2 separate regions of the Homo sapiens genome follow, and region 2 is linked to region 1. The links are contacts of gene promoters, found by promoter capture Hi-C in blood cells and fetal thymus (Javierre and others, 2016). All regions are on one chromosome and are shown on one strand. Each heading gives the region's core, a stretch centred on a gene start or on the middle of the fragment in contact. The rest is flanking DNA. Distances are from core to core; before and after follow the strand shown. Region 1 holds the start of PSAT1 (phosphoserine aminotransferase 1). Region 2 overlaps GNA14 (G protein subunit alpha 14).

Evidence for each region. The method cuts DNA at HindIII sites, captures the fragments that hold promoters and counts their contacts. A CHiCAGO score of 5 or more calls a contact.
Region 2: a fragment that was not itself captured here is called in contact with the fragment with the promoter of PSAT1 in region 1 in 1 of 17 cell types (naive CD4 T cells); the score reaches 5.4 in naive CD4 T cells.

The regions. Positions count from the first base shown.
Region 1 is chr9:78,295,459-78,298,532 of GRCh38, reverse strand. It overlaps PSAT1 (phosphoserine aminotransferase 1), which reads right to left and starts at 1,408. Exons shown (of 9, transcript NM_058179.4): 1 at 1,263-1,408. The coding sequence starts at 1,322. RefSeq lists a silencer at 803-1,042 and enhancers at 995-1,578, 1,579-2,162, 2,053-2,322. The HindIII fragment of the contact is 4,911 bases long and covers 1-3,074 here.
Region 2 is chr9:77,451,087-77,454,160 of GRCh38, reverse strand. The region is part of intron 2 of GNA14 (G protein subunit alpha 14); the gene reads left to right. The region is part of intron 1 of GNA14-AS1 (GNA14 antisense RNA 1); the gene reads right to left. Among named protein-coding and RNA genes, the nearest start is that of GNA14-AS1, 5.0 kb to the right of the region's middle. The HindIII fragment of the contact is 2,676 bases long and covers 165-2,840 here.

The sequences.
Region 1 (3,074 bases), core at 159-2,658:
GGAGCAGGGAATCTCGCCTAAAATGAACTGTAACCACTGAGAAAAAATAAGCCCTGTCCTCTCAGCTACTGTGAGCGCTGCCCCTAGAAAAGTAAGAAGTCCTTTCCCCTTTAAAATTGGATTCTCTGTTCTTACCACAACACAGAGGAGGCTCTGTCCCAGGGAGATTTCTACTCTGCTCAACAATTGATAATTGTAAAATACTTGGCTATGCCTCATGCTGCTCCAACATATTATCAGCTCTATCCTGGTTAGAAAAATAAAAATCTAACGGCGGCGGCAGCCGCCTGACAATGGGCTCAAGGCACATCGGAGACTTTGCCTTCTTCACTGCGGGTGGGGCTGGGGACGGTGGGTTTGGCGGGGGAGGGGAGGAGCCGGGCTGGGGCCTGGGAAGGCAGAGAGTGAGTTCCACCAGCAAGATCTGATTGTGGCCCGGGAGAGAATTCAATCACTCGGTTTACTCCAGAACGAAATGAACAGGGAATTGGGTTAAGCAGCCCAAAGTCTACCAGAGTTAGAATACTCGAACGCCTTTAGGGGACAAGCAGGTTAAAAAAAGGAGGGGGGTGGGGAGAAAGGCTTTAGGAAAGGGTAGGTTCTATGGGGGACAAGGAGGGGAAAGCTGGACTGAAGGTTTTCAAATTTACATTTCTGAAAAGCAGTGTTCCTAAGTGCTGGCTAAAGCAAACACTGGTGTAAGGCGTAGGGGGGCACGCACACGCGGACCTTTAAGTTTGCAATCCCTTTCAGCTAACGTGATCCACTGCATATGCAAAACCTGTCATCGGTTCATTCCCGTTCATCACTCATTCACACTATGTCCATTCATGCATCCGCTCCACACTGCCCGGGCTCGCCGCACAGCTGCGCGAGGCGAAGGCAGAGATCAGAGCTTTTTCTTTTTCGCCCCGCCCCAGCCCCCGGACCGGCCCAGGAGATGGCACAGCCCGGGCGTCTGCAGGTGCGTGGCACCGGCGGGACAGCAGGCCCCGGCCAGCTGAGTCGTGCACTGCCTCGCACCAGCAGTCAGGGCCAGGGGCAGCTGCACGGGCACGCCTCGCCGAGCTTCCTCACCAACTGCATTCTTCCCGAAGCCCGCTTGCCGGAGCTGCTGATCCCGCTGTGCACGCTGATGCAAAGCGCCTAGGGGACTCAAGGCAGGGAGCGGGAATCCGACTGCCACACGCAGGGATGCAAACCCACCCGCGTGCGTGCTCCCGCCTGAACCTCACTCCCGGCGCCCGCTCGCGGGGACTTACTGAGTGCGGCAGCTTGGCGGGACCAGGCCCAAAGTTGACCACCTGCCTGGGGGCGTCCATGGTGCGGCGGCCAGGGCGGTGAGTCAGCCAAGGAGGACCGAACGCGTGAACGGCTGGCGTTCCTGGCCGCTGCGGTGAGAGTCTGCAGCCGGCCCCGAACCCCCGCCTTGTTCCTGCGCCGAGTCGGCGCCCCATTGGCCCGTGCTGTCGCAGGCCCTGCGCTAATTGGTTCGCGCGAAGGAGCTCACATCCCCATTGGTCGCGCTTCTGAGCCGAGTCGAAGCAGTTGCTCCTCCTCGCGTTTACTGTTTCAACCCCCATTTTTGATCAATGCAAGGAGCGCGCGAGATTGCGCCAGCCAGCCGAGCCGGCTCGGCTGCGCGCCCGCCCGAGGATTGTGGGCGGCGGGAAGAGGCTGCCCCTGCCAACCTGCCTTCGCCCCTTGAGCCCGCAATCTGGCCGGTTCCAGTCCTCCAACCCCAGAGGACCTCAGCTCCTCTCTCTTGGCTGAAAGGGCAGTTGCCGAGCAGATTTGTAGCCCCCATCCACCCACCTCTCCACCACCAGCCCCCAGTTTGGGCTGTGATGTATTTGTTCCAGAACCACCAGTCACTAATCTACCAAACTTTTCTAAGCACCCCCCACGGGCGTCAGATACCCCAGTGGAGAGAGAGGACCCCCCCAAGGTTGGAAGCGCAGGATGAAGAAGGGCCGGGGGTGGGTGGATACGGTTCTTTGTATTTGCACGTGGGTCCTGAGTTCCTGCAGGATTAAAGAACGGAGGTGGCCAAGGACGCAGGGAGGAGCGATAGCCTGGGAAGCGTGGATGCCCGCCAGGCAAGTCCTTTAAAGTCGCTGATTCTCCATTTCCTCCTTTGGGAAACGAGTGAGCTGGAAACCTGCGACAGCTCTCAGGTTGCGCCCGCGCTGACAAGCTGTGAGTTTAGAAACGTGAGGAGATATTAACAAGAACGCGATACCCATAGGGCGCTGCAGCCCAAACCAGAAGAAGGTGGCCCCTAGCCAGGCCAGGCGCAGGGCCAGAGCTGCTCAAACTTTTCCACAGAAGTGTCCTTCTCAAAAGAACTCCAGTGGAGACCCGCATGGGGTTCTGAAACAGAATACCCTCCCCCTACCCTGCAAGAAAGAAGTTCCTTTGAAGTCTGGAATTTCATCATTTTTAAACTGTGAATTTTGCATTCTCTACCATAATTTAACCTAGTTTCTTTTAATGTAAAAATATTTTCCCTGTCTGAGTAAAATTGATGCGCCAGGAATATATACAGTCCAACTGCCCCGTTTAGAGAAGGCTTGTAACTGGACAGGACTTTGGCTTTTGTTTGCTTTTCCTAATGAGAATGTGGGCGGTATGGGGCTGAGAGCAGAGGCACTGCTCTGGATCTGGGAATTGGAGGACAAAGTTTCCAGAAAAAGGCAAAATGAACAAGGCCCCTGCGTTCCTCAGCAACTTCATTAAGAAAACCGCGACATTCAAGACAGAATAAATCTCAGCCCAGAAACTCAGGCATGCAAGAAGCATCACATATCCATTATTTTACGTAAATAACTCAGTTATTATATATTAGTAGCTGCCCCTAGCAGCTTATCTACTGGAGACTAAGGGAGTCAGCCTTCATCCTTCCTGGAGTTAGTTCCTAACACCAGGGCTATACACAGTCCCATGTAGTGGGTTGGGAGAAGGGACAGCACATCCATTTGGTCCTCTGTTCCCAAAAGATATGGCTGAGTTGTTTCCACTGCCCAAGCTGATGTGGCTGCTTGGGTTGATGAGCAACCTACTACTTCTGTATC
Region 2 (3,074 bases), core at 253-2,752, 840 kb after region 1:
AGCCGGGGGTGTGGGGTGGAACTACGCAGGTAGTGGAAGGCTGGGCAATGCGGTTCTTCCTTGTGAAATCCAAGATTTTGAAGAGATCGGATGCTGCACGGAGCGGGCGAGGAGCCTGAGCTTTGTGCCTGTGCAAATGAGAAGAGATACTGAATCATGAAGCTTTCACTTCTGAGCATTAGCAGAAACTGCAGCAAGACTTCTGACTTTTACAAGCTATGGAATCGGCTGGAGTCTGAGCAGTTTTATCCTGTGAGAAAATGGATCCCCAGTTGCCATTGAACTATATGTATTTGGCAAGTAGTGTATCGTAAAGCTGCTCTTTGGAAACTCATAATAAAACTAGCATATCAAAAGCTCTGTGCTGTGTTCGGGCCTCCCCACTCCATGTTGCTGTATTTGTTGTGGTGGCTGCAGGCTTATGATTGCTCAGGTTTGCTCAGTTCCATAAATTCTCACTAAATGCTGCATTTGTTGAAGGAATCCTGTTGTAGCTTCAGGGCTGTTCTTGCTGTTGTTTTTAAGCCATACACATGTGGATTATCTTTCTAAGTGACTGAATGGTTAAGAGTTTGGTGCGCATAGTTACACATTTTCATGAACTGTTGCATTTTGTTAATGCATATTGCTCCTTGACTTCATTGTATTTTGTCAGTATTTATTGAATGTAAAGATTTTCAGGTAAGATTCATTTATTCATTCAAAGAATATTGATGTGCGAACCACCATTCTAGGCACGTGGGAGTACATTAATGAAGAAAAGAGACTAATATCTGTCTTAGTCTATTCAGGCTGCTATAACAGAATACCTTAGGCTGGGTAATTTATAAAGAGTAGCGTTTACTGCTCACAGTTCTGGGGATTGGGAAGTCTGCAGAAGTCTAAGATGAAGGCACTAGCAGATGTGCTGTCTGGTGAGAGTCTGCTCCTCAGAGATGGCATCTTCTTGGTGTCTTCGCATGGCGGAAGGGACACACAAGCTCCCTCAGGCCTCTTTTTATTTTTATTTTTTATTTTTTCAGGAACAGGGTCTTGCTCTGTCACCCAGGCTAGAGTGCAGTGGTGCAATCATGGCTCACTGTAACCTCGAACTCTTGGGCTGACGCCATCCTCCTGCCTCAGCCTCTCAAGTAGCTGGGACTGCAGGTACACACACCACCCGGCTGGTTACTTGTTTGTTTATTTGTTTTTAGGGATGAGGGAATGTCGCTATGTTGTCCAGGCTGGTCTTGAACTCCTGGCGTCAAGCAGTCCTCCTGCCTCAGCCTCCTGTGTCCTTGGGCTTACAGGCATGAACCAATGTGCCCAGCTCAGACCTCTTTTAAAAGGGCACAAAGTCATTCATGAGGACTCCACCTTCATGACCTAGTCCCCACTCAGAAGCCCCACTCCTTAATACCTCCACGTTGGGGATGAGAGTTCAACGTATGGATTTTGGAGAGACACAAACTTTCAGACCACAGCAGATCCCTGCCCTAAGGGGTACATGTACCACACAGACACACACACAAACACAAACACACACACCGCACACATATACATACACACACATACACATACACACCACACACACACATACACATGCACATACACACACACACACACACACACTTGTGTGCAGTTCTGCAGTTAACTAGAAAACTTGGGTAACTTTTTCAGACTTTGTCCTAAACTAATTTGATCAAGGAACTTTTTTTTAAGGATATGTACCACGTTTTGTAGAGTAGTGTTTTGTTTAATGTACCACTCTGGAAAATGCTTATAAAGGCATCGCTGGACTGAATGTACTTCAGGAAAATCATCCATAGATACCATTTGTTTCAAAATTTGGTAAGAGTTAGGCGGCAGAGAGACTAAATTCTCCACCAAGATCTGGAGTGCAGATATTCTTTGTTGCTACTTAAAGGCAAATCTGTCTGCCTCACACGTCACATGAGTAGGGGTGACTTTGGTGAATCCTAAGGCTGTACTGGAGCTTGTCACTTGGCTACACGTCTATCTCAGACCTGCTGACAGGACCAGTGTATTTCTACGGGGTTCTGGATCAAGCAGTCCAGCCTCTTACTGGATCGTGTCTCTCAAGTCAGCCTCTGTGGAGTTATATCCGCTTCCCCTGGGATGCGGTGTGAGACCAGCACATAGTGAGCATGGACATCACTAGATTGAGTGAAATGTTCCTGGGCTGTGGGGACTTCACGAGACCACATCTAATTTTTGCACAAATATCTGTCACTCACCACCTACCTGTGCTCGTCTGGTTGCTCGGTTGGGATTTTTTGACAGGAAATAGGAGACTTGGTTAAATGTCTGTGTAACTTTGAGATGCTTGAGGAGAGAGACACTTTGCACTGACCCCAACAGGTTTCCTTATGCACCTGATTACAACAAAGAATCTCGGGTTCTTGCTTGGGAGAGTGGCTGAGCAGCTTTGCTGCACGTTGGCTTGTCCACCCAAGCTGGAAAAACCTGTGGTCCAGAGTCCCAGGGTGACTAATGAACATGTGTGTGACAAGGGAGAAAAAAGTTTGGGGCAATATTATCTTTTGGGGATAACTGCCTTTGAGGCTGTCTTCCTGGTTATTTTGAGGATGTGTGATTCACAGAAGAGAGACGGACCTACACATTGGTCATCCTCAAGATTTTCAGGGCCATCCTAGAATAGCCTCACCCTGGATCCCAGGAACAGACCTCTTTATCAATAGTGGCATTCCTTTACATCCTCAGCTAAGTATAGTTACAATGATTGCTTTAGAGCACTCTAAAAAGAGTGACTACAGTGGCTGTGTTTGCCTTTATACTTTGAAAAAAGAATGTCCACAACAACAAATATTTATGAAGCTTTATAATTAAAAAATACGTTCTTTAGCTAGAGACTGCTAATGTTGAAAAGACCACCCCCACCTCCCCTCCTCATTTTACCAATGAGGAAACTGAGGGCTTAGGGTCAGATAAATTCATCGAAAGCTCCCTACTAGGGGATGAGCTGAGATTATATCTTGAGTCCTCTTGAAGGAAGCTAGTCTGACACACGTATGTTCCCCATAGGGCCGTCACATTCTTATGGTCACACTATA